Linked DNA regions of Homo sapiens: region 2 is linked to region 1. Evidence: promoter capture Hi-C in 16 types of primary human blood cells and fetal thymus (Javierre and others, 2016). All regions are on one chromosome and are shown on one strand. Each heading gives the region's core, a stretch centred on a gene start or on the middle of the fragment in contact. The rest is flanking DNA. Distances are from core to core; before and after follow the strand shown.

Evidence for each region. The method cuts DNA at HindIII sites, captures the fragments that hold promoters and counts their contacts. A CHiCAGO score of 5 or more calls a contact.
Region 2: a fragment that was not itself captured here is called in contact with the fragment with the promoter of CXCR1 in region 1 in 2 of 17 cell types (neutrophils and total CD8 T cells); the score reaches 5.3 in neutrophils.

What each region holds. Positions count from the first base shown.
Region 1 is chr2:218,164,391-218,168,895 of GRCh38, forward strand. It overlaps CXCR1 (C-X-C motif chemokine receptor 1), which reads right to left and starts at 2,572. Exons shown (of 2, transcript NM_000634.3): 1 at 2,518-2,572; 2 at 1-854. The coding sequence starts at 821. The HindIII fragment of the contact is 3,933 bases long and covers 1-2,879 here.
Region 2 is chr2:218,481,077-218,485,581 of GRCh38, forward strand. It overlaps USP37 (ubiquitin specific peptidase 37), which reads right to left. Exons shown (of 26, transcript NM_020935.3): 17 at 994-1,158. Among named protein-coding and RNA genes, the nearest start is that of VIL1, 64 kb to the left of the region's middle. The HindIII fragment of the contact is 768 bases long and covers 1,693-2,460 here.

The sequences.
Region 1 (4,505 bases), core at 1,322-3,821:
TGGATCACCTGGGTCCTCATGAGGGTGTCTGCCAGCAGGACCAGGTTGTAGGGCAGCCAGCAAAGCAGGAAGATGAGGACGACAGCAAAGATGACCCTCATGGCTCGGTGCTTCTGCCCCATGTGGGCCTTAAACAGTGTACGCAGGGTGAATCCATAGCAGAACAGCATGACAAACAGCGGCACGATGAAGCCAAAGGTGTGAGGCAGGATCCGCAACACCATCCGCCATTTTGCTGTGTCATTTCCCAGGACCTCATAGCAAACTGGACTGGAATTGTTTGGATGGTAAGCCTGGCGGAAAAGGAAGAAGGGCAGGGACAGATTCATAGACAGTCCCCAGCAGCCAAGACAAACAAACTTGACCAAGTGACGCTTCTGGGTCAGTGTGCGTGTGGCATGGACAATGGCCAGGTAACGGTCCACACTGATGCAGGCCAACAGCAGGATGCCACTGTAGAAGTTGACTTCCTTCAGGAGTGAGACCACCTTGCACAGGAATGTGCCAAAAATCCAGCCATTCACCTTGGAGGCGGCCCAGATGGGCAAGGTCAGGGCAAAGAGTAGGTCGGCCAAGGCCAGGTTCAGCAGGTAGACATCAGTGACGGAGCGGCCGACCCTGCTGTATAAGATGACCAGCATCACCAGGGAGTTTCCCAGCAGGCTCAGCAGGAACACTAGGGCATAGGCGATGATCACAACATACTTGTTGAGTGTCTCAGTTTCTAGCATACAGGGGCTGTAATCTTCATCTGCAGGTGGCATGCCAGTGAAATTTAGATCATCAAAATCCCACATCTGTGGATCTGTAATATTTGACATGTCCTCTTCAGTTTCAGCAATGGTTTGATCTAACTGGAAGGTTAGAAGGAAGGAAATGTGATTTAGTAGCTCGGATTCAAGGCATTCTCATCAATGATGTGAGAGCAGTTACTGGGATATCCTTGGCTTCCCTGTTGGTTTGGCAATGAGAGCTCTCCTTCCTCCTTTGACTCCAACCTGGTCTTCTTCGGAGGTTGGCTTCCCAGTGTTCTCCACCTTCCACAACTCTAAGGCCTGGCCTGAGTGTGGGGTAAGATGGAATATGGGGAAAACACCTTAGCCCTAGCTCAACCTACAACTGCCTCCTCTCAGCCTATGTCTCTACCTCTGTCCCTCTTTAGCCTTCTCCATCCTCAGCTGTGTCTGTGCATTTGGATGTGGGGACCAGGTTGGTCTTAGACATTCAGGGAAGGGCCAGCATTAAGCAAAATGCAAGAAGGCAAACCTGTTCCCAGGTGTCCCCTTCTACTATTTCTATTCCTATGTTCTCCCTGATTCTTGTTTACCCTCCTTAAAATCTACTGGGGGAAGGAAGTGATAACAACACATTGCATTAAACTGTATATTTTAAGCCTTCTTTAAATGAGGAGCACATATTTTGTTCCTCTGTCTAAAGGAGTTTTAAGTATTTGAGAAGATAAAGTCTCCATCTTGGTCCCTGAAACCCTCCACCCCTGAAAAAATCCACAGAATCATTCAAGAGTTTTCAAATATATTTCCTATTGTGAAATAGTTTACTGAAATAAGATCTTCCCAGAAGCCCAGTATGTGAAGCAGATAAAAGCTGAGCCACTGTGGGGCAGAGTGTGCTAATCTCCGAACCCAGATGGCCCCTAAAGAGCCCCTCAAAGCTCCAGGACTCTCCAGAGAAGTCTGAAAGCCTTTGGAAAGTCACCGAGGTTGGTTGTAAAGACACCTAGCATCCAGTCTTCATTCCATCCTGATTCTACCATTAATAAGTTTCGTGTGTAATCCCAGCCCTTTGGGAGGCCAAGGCAGGCAGATCATGAAGTCAGGAGTTCGAGACCAGCCTGACCAAAATGATGAAACCCCGTCTCTACTAAAAATACAAAAAAATTAGCTGGGTGTGGTGGCGTGCACCTGTAATCCCAACTACTCAGGAGGCTGAGGCAGGAGAATCACTTGAACCCGGGAAATGGAGGTTGCAGTGAGCCGAGATCGTGCCACAGTACTACAGCCTAGGCGACAGAGTGAGACTCCATCTCAAAATAAATAAATAAATAAATAAATAAGTCTCATGACCTTGAGTGGGGTCTCGTACCCCTATAGATTTCAGTCTTCTCATCTGCAAATCGAGGAAGACAGAATCATCCACCTCTCATTTGCTGCCAGGCCTGAGGGTGTATGATGAGTCCACTCAGATCCACACATTTTAGTGTGTTCCCTCCCTACCAGTATTTGCATTTTCACTGAAGACAAAGTCTTAAGGTGAAGCAATAAACATCAAATTGGGGAATGGTCAGCCTCTTCCCACAAAAGGGCAAGGTATAAAAAGAGGGGATGAGGAGGCTGTCCTCTTCACCTGCTAACTCCATGTATGAGTGGTGGTCACAAGAGAGGAAGCGGGCAGCAGAAATCCTCAGCTCCCACAGAAATGAATACATTTTCCAAAATAAAGTCAAGCCAAGCAGCCCTACCCCACAGAAAGTCCTAGCAAACAGAGGTGGCTTCCTACCTGAAGCACCGGCCAGGTGTGTCCAACAGTAGGAGCTGCAGTCAGAGATCAGAGTGACTTAACAGCTAGAGGGCACTTGATGAATAAACGGAAATAAGGAAACCACATCAGATGACACCTCCCTTCTGAGCCCCACCCATGTCTACATTTGGGGAAGAACAGTTTAAGTCAAGGGATCACAGACTTGTGATTAGAGACTGCCAGGGTCCATATGACCAAGTGGGGGTCCCAGGTGTGAAGCTGGGGTTGAGGGTCCATTATCTGAATTCTCCACTCTATGGATGATCATTTTTATTATTTTCCTTTTCTTGAATTTATTTCCATTTGTTTATTCCTAAATTCCCTAGTATATCACCTGTGGAAGCTTGCAACTTCCTGACCAAGTATAAAGGGCGAAGGATTTGACTTACAGCAGAGACTTCAGAAGGAGTCCCCCATAGGAGGGACTTGGGGGCAATCCAGTGGGAAAGAGGAGGAGGACTGCGCTTGAGTTGTGTTTGAACAGCAGGCACTCAATCTCTACTTATTTTGCAGGCTTCTTTGAGGTGGCCTAGCTCGGATTCAAGGCATTCTCATCAAGGATGTGAGAGCAGTTACTGGGATATCCTTGGCTTCCCTGTTGGTTTGCCAACGAGAGCTCCCCTTCCTCCTTTGCCTCCAACCTGGTCTTCTTTGGAGGTTGGCTTCCCAGTGTTCTCCACCTTCCACAACTCCAAGGCCTGGCCTCAATCTCTACTTATTTTTCAGGCTTTTTGAGGGTATTTGAATGGAACACAAACCCTCCTTTGCCGCCAGCCACTCTTTCGCACAATCACTGCCAATGACCAGTTGGTTTAAATGGCCCTGAGGCTGACGGCATAGGCCACTCCCAGAGTCTGGCTGGTTAGCAGAGAGACCACAGAGCTGGGGCAGTCCATGAATGGAAGAGCTGTGGTCAAGGTCACTGCAGCCCCCATCTCAGTAACGGAGAATGGCTTCTCTGGGAACCCACCTTAGCTGCCTCCAGCAGCTAATGGCTGTCCCCTAGCTTGAGTCTTCTGGCACCTTCGTCACTTCTCCATATAACATGAACCCTGCTGTGAGGCATTTACAAGTCAGCCCTCTTCTAGCTTGGGAGCCATGAGACAGCAAGAACCTTCTTCAATTCATGTTTATGTTCTCTTTCAGGGAATATAGTAGGTGCTCAATCAATGGTTGTGGAATAAATGAAGGGAGACATTTCTCCTGTGATTCATGGACCATAAGTCACCACCACGATTCAGTGTCTATTGCTTTTGGCTACACACTAAAGTCACTGGTATGCCTGATAGCTTCACTTCCACACAGCCCAGTTGGTCTGCCTGGCATTGCTTCTTTCCAACCTTCCTCTAATGTTTGGAGCTAATGCCAGTCTGTGCAAGTATAAATCCTGCCCTACCACAAATGCCAAATTTACCATGCCATGGATTCCTACAGTTCTGCACTGGAAAGAATTTTTTTCTTTTTTTAAGAGACAGGCTCTCACTGTGTTGCCAAGGCTAGAATGCAGTGGTGTGATCATAGCTCAGTGTAACCTCAAATGCCTGGGCTCAAGCAATCCTCCCACCTCAACCTCCTGAATAGCTGGGACTACAGGCAAGAGCCACTACATCTGGCTTTCTTTTTTTATATTATATTTTTATTTTTATTTTTTATTTAGTTATTTATTTATTTGTAGAGAAAGGGTCCTGATATACTGCCCAGGCTTATCTTGAACTCCTAGCCTCTAGTGATCCTCCTGCCTTTGCCTCCCAAAGCACTGGGATTACAGGCATAAGCCACCATGCCCAGCCGGCAAGCCTATTTTTTAAGCTAAGTTGTGCTTTCCTCCTGGGCTCTTTTATCATTCATAGATGGTAACAGGAAGTGTAAGGGGACAATAGCCACTCATGCTTTGCTTTTACTGATGTTGGACTATTGTGCTCTAACGCCTAGACTAGAAAGGAGTCAAAGATGGGGTAGTCCCAGGA
Region 2 (4,505 bases), core at 827-3,326, 320 kb after region 1:
TACCAAACTAGTGTTCAAGTATAGAAAAGAATGACATAACATATGGCTTCAAAGTAATGCAAGTATGTAGAAAAAAGGGGAACACTCAAAGAAGTCCGAAGGTTTTCCCAGCATACATGATGAAGCAAAAACCTAAAGTAAAGATTACTTCTTTTTTTCTTGAGAAATTTCAGGAGCCATTTAAGTTCTTTACACTGCTGATAATATATGCATGAAGGCATAACATTGAGTATAGGGTTTCTCACATCTGCATGTCCTGAAGAGTCAACTGAAGCATTTGCTAAAAATATTGATTCCTAAGCGCCTATCTCAGACCTACTGAAACAGAACTTCCAGGGAAAAAACACAAAAATCAGTATTTTTAGTGTCTAGGTGACTCTTATTATCACCTAAGTTTGACTCATATTCAAGAAGTATATCAAACTGTCTTCTAGCACTCTAACCAAGAGCACTTCCTAAAAAAGCACCTCACTATGAAAAGCAACTAATAACTTTGGAAAAATTTTAAGCATTTTCTTCAATTACTTCAGGCAGTGATTTAACACTAAAACAAAGTAAAGCAAAATTAAAATCTCCTTCTTGGTCTGATTTCTTTTCTTTTCTTTTCTTTTTTTTTTTTTTTTTGAGATAGGGTCTTGCTCTGATCACCATTCACTGCAGCCTTCATCTCCCAGGCTCCAGCAATCCTCCCACCTCAGCCTCGAGTAGCTGGCACTACAGGTGTGTGCCACCATGCTGGCTTTATTATTTTATTTTTTGTAGAGATGAGGTCATGCTCTGTTGCCATAGGTGGTTTCAAACTCCTAGGCTCAAGCGATTCTCCTGCCTCAGCCTCCCAAAGTGCTGGGATTACAGGCATGAGCCACTGCATCTGGCCATTGATCTGATTTTACCTTGGAGTCATATTATGTAATTCAGTCATTCTTTTGATTAGATACTAAAGCCTTTCTATTTCAAAAGGGAATATAAAGACATAGTCTCTCAAGGACTTACATTGCCATATGTGCACTCCAACCAAGGGTAAAAGGTGGTTTTGTATTTTCAGTGCAATGAGATGACAGGGTCAGGTATCTTGGAATGATGACTTGCTGCCCAATCTTATTGTTAAGCGAGAGAGCCACATTGAAGCTATATCGTTTCAAATGGAGAATGAGGACCCTGAAAAACAGGAGATGACAACCTTACTAATTCATACATAATACATGTATCTTTCTTACAGTAAAAGAGATCACTCTATGTTAGACGACTTTTGATTTAAAAAATCCATTTGGCCAAACCAAAGACACGTCAAAGAATATTTACTGAATACCTGTTAGTGCCAGGCATTGGGCTAGGTAAAAAGCATACAAATAATGGTGGATTAGTGTGGTTTGGGTAAAATACTTATAATGTTCCTAGAAAAAACACAAATAAATAAAATATAGCAGACAAGAATGTTAAATTTGGCACTGATATTGGGTTAAATCCTTAAATTATTTACTTCACTGTTACATAGTTTAAAAAGCAATAGGTTTTATATAACCACTACTAGTAAAATAATGTCTATTAAAATGTTACATAGCTCTTATATTTGATGGTAAACATTAATTACTTCAAGATGATTTTTGATGAGAATTATTCTTTTATTTTCAGAAGTACTTTCTCTGTAGAAAGCTAAGGAGGAAATACAAAACTTTTCCCCATTTAGAAAAAAGCTTTACAAAAATTTGCATGCCAAATCTGATCTGTGGGTCTGTAAAGGCTTTTAGCTCTTTAGAAGCACTGAATTCTTTGTGGTTAAAATTGTGGTAACCTTTTCACTTCTCACACAGAACACGATCTCTGCTTGATGGATTAAATATATTTCTCAACCCACAAGAACACTTTAAAAATTGAATTTCAAACATCTTATGGGAATAAACTTCAGTTCTAGGCACACACACAAAAATGATCTATAAAAAACTGATTCTTACCATATATGCCTTCATCACAGAAGCCACAAACAAAAATTTGCAAACTGAAGTTATAGATTGTAGTTCTCTTTAAAAAGCGTGCTAGAACTCAGGATCTTCAAATATACAATTTGAGAGAATACAAGGACACAACTGATATGAAACCAATGTCAAAATTAAATATTTTAACTAGAATTTCAAATAACCTAACCAAAATAAAAGGTAATATGAGGCTACTCTGGACACACTGCCTATAGTGTAGCCCTGCTATGCATGGAGCAGTAAAAGGTGGGGGGGAAGGTAATATAAAACAGGAAAATGATAGTCAAAATCACTGATCTTCAAAGATGAGGCCCAACTTTGTGAACAGATTTGATAATGGCATCAGGCTCTTCAAGAATAAGAGTGGCTTTGAATATTAAACTGAACAAAAGTAGAACAAGACTAATCATTAGGATTTAAAGAGTGGCTTTGAATATTAAATTGAACAAAAGTAGAACAAAACTAATATTAGGATTTGACAAACAGAAGCTTCTATCACATAAGTCTGGAATAAATTAACCTTTAACACAAGTGATCTACCAGGAAAAAAAAAAAAAAGAAAAAAAAGAAAGAAAAACAAGGAGAAAAATTCCCCTTAGCATTTTTTTCCCCCCACTTGAAAAACCAAATAGCAAGAGAATGGGAAAGAGAAAAGACATCCAGCATGTGAGGTCAAAACTAGTCTTTTTAACTGTACACATAATTTCCTTAGTGACAGCTGGTAACAACCAATTCTTTGCCTTAAGATTCTTCCTCCCACCTTCCTGGCCTCAAACCACTCACAAACAGGAAAGAACAAATTCTCTTAATCCAAAAATATAAGTCTCTTAAGTCAATATAATAATACTGCTATGATTTATACACTTGAGGAGGCCGAGGCGGCCACATCACCTGAGGTCAGGAGTTTGAGACCAGCCTGGCCAACACGGCGCGACCCTGTCTCTACCAAAAACACAAAAATTAGCCAGGCGTGGTGGCGCGTTCCTGTAATCCCAGCTACTCAGGAGGCTGAGGCAGGAGAATCGCTTGAACCCAGGAGGCGGGGGTTGCAGTGAGCCGAGATCATGCCACCGCATTCCAGCCTGGGCAACAGAACGAGACTCTGTTTGAAAAAAACAAAAAACACAACATTTTTTGTAGAGATGGGGGTCTCACCATGTTGCCCAGGCTGGTCTTGAACTCTTGGTCTCAAGCAAACCTTCCACCTTGGCTTCTCAAAATGTTGAGATTACAGGCGTGAACCACCACACCCAGCCTTTATAAAGTCATTTCTTTAAAACCAACTTCCTTGGCCCGGCGCGGTGGCTTATGCCTATAATCCCAGCACTTTGGGAGGCCAAGGCAGGTGGATCACCTGAGGTCAGGAGTTCAAGACCAACCTGGTCAACATGGCAAAACCCCGTCTCTACTAAAAATACAAAAATTAGCCAGGTGTGGTGGCATACAGCTGTAATCCCAGCTACTCGGGAGGCTGAGGCAGGAGAATCGCTTGAACCCGTGAGGCAGAGGTTGCGGTGAGCTGAGATCGTGCCACTGCACTCTAGCCTGGGGGACAGAGCAAGACTCTGTATCAAAACAACAACAACAACAACAACAACAAACAACCAAAAAAAAAAACCAACTCCCATTTTCTAGAAAGGAGTAGATTATGAAATGTAAAAGAACTAGTCTCTAGGGGCTAGGTTCCAGAAATTCCACACTTACTGACAGAATATTGAAGCTAATAAAAGAAAGTAAAGCACTCTGTAGGCAAAGTGCTACATAAATACTTAATGTTAATAACAACCTTGGTGTTTGCGATCTATTCTTGGAAAGAACTAAAAGCTGTCCTGTAACCACATAATAATTTTTTGTAACTACTTCAGTTTTATGTTTATACAGAGCAGATACAATATAAGTTAATTTCATTCCTATATCAGAAAATTTATCTTATGATTACAGGAAATTTACTAATTTATAAGATCCTTAGAATGAAGGAACGCACAAACTGCAAAAAATTACTCCCTGTTTTATTCTTATATACATGTGTGTATGTGTCTATAGCAGGTTTTTACTGAAAGTATGGGATAACAGAAAAAGACTACAGCACAACACAGGGCAACAAAATATAACTGAATATTACACATTACTGAATTAAAAATTGACTAGCTAGTTCTTATAATTATTCCAAAGTCTCAGCAGCTGTATCCTCTGTTGCCATTTTCTTGGAACTCTCAAGACCCTTTTTCTCTTCAATATTTCAAACGCTTTTCCTTCCTTCCTTTAAATATATATTTCTTTCTTTTGTAGAGATGGGGTTTCCCTACGTTACCCAGGCTGGTCTTGAACTCCTGGACTCAAGTGATCCTCCTACCTCAGCCTCCCAAAGTGCTAGGATTACAGGCGTGAGCTATCACACCTGGTCACCTTTCTTATGCAAAAGCATTCTAGCTCTCTGCCCTCTTACACTCTGCACATTTCAGCTTTCCTGACCCTCTTTACCAATCCATTCTGGTAACCTTCATTTATTCAGTAATATTTGTATGAACTTTA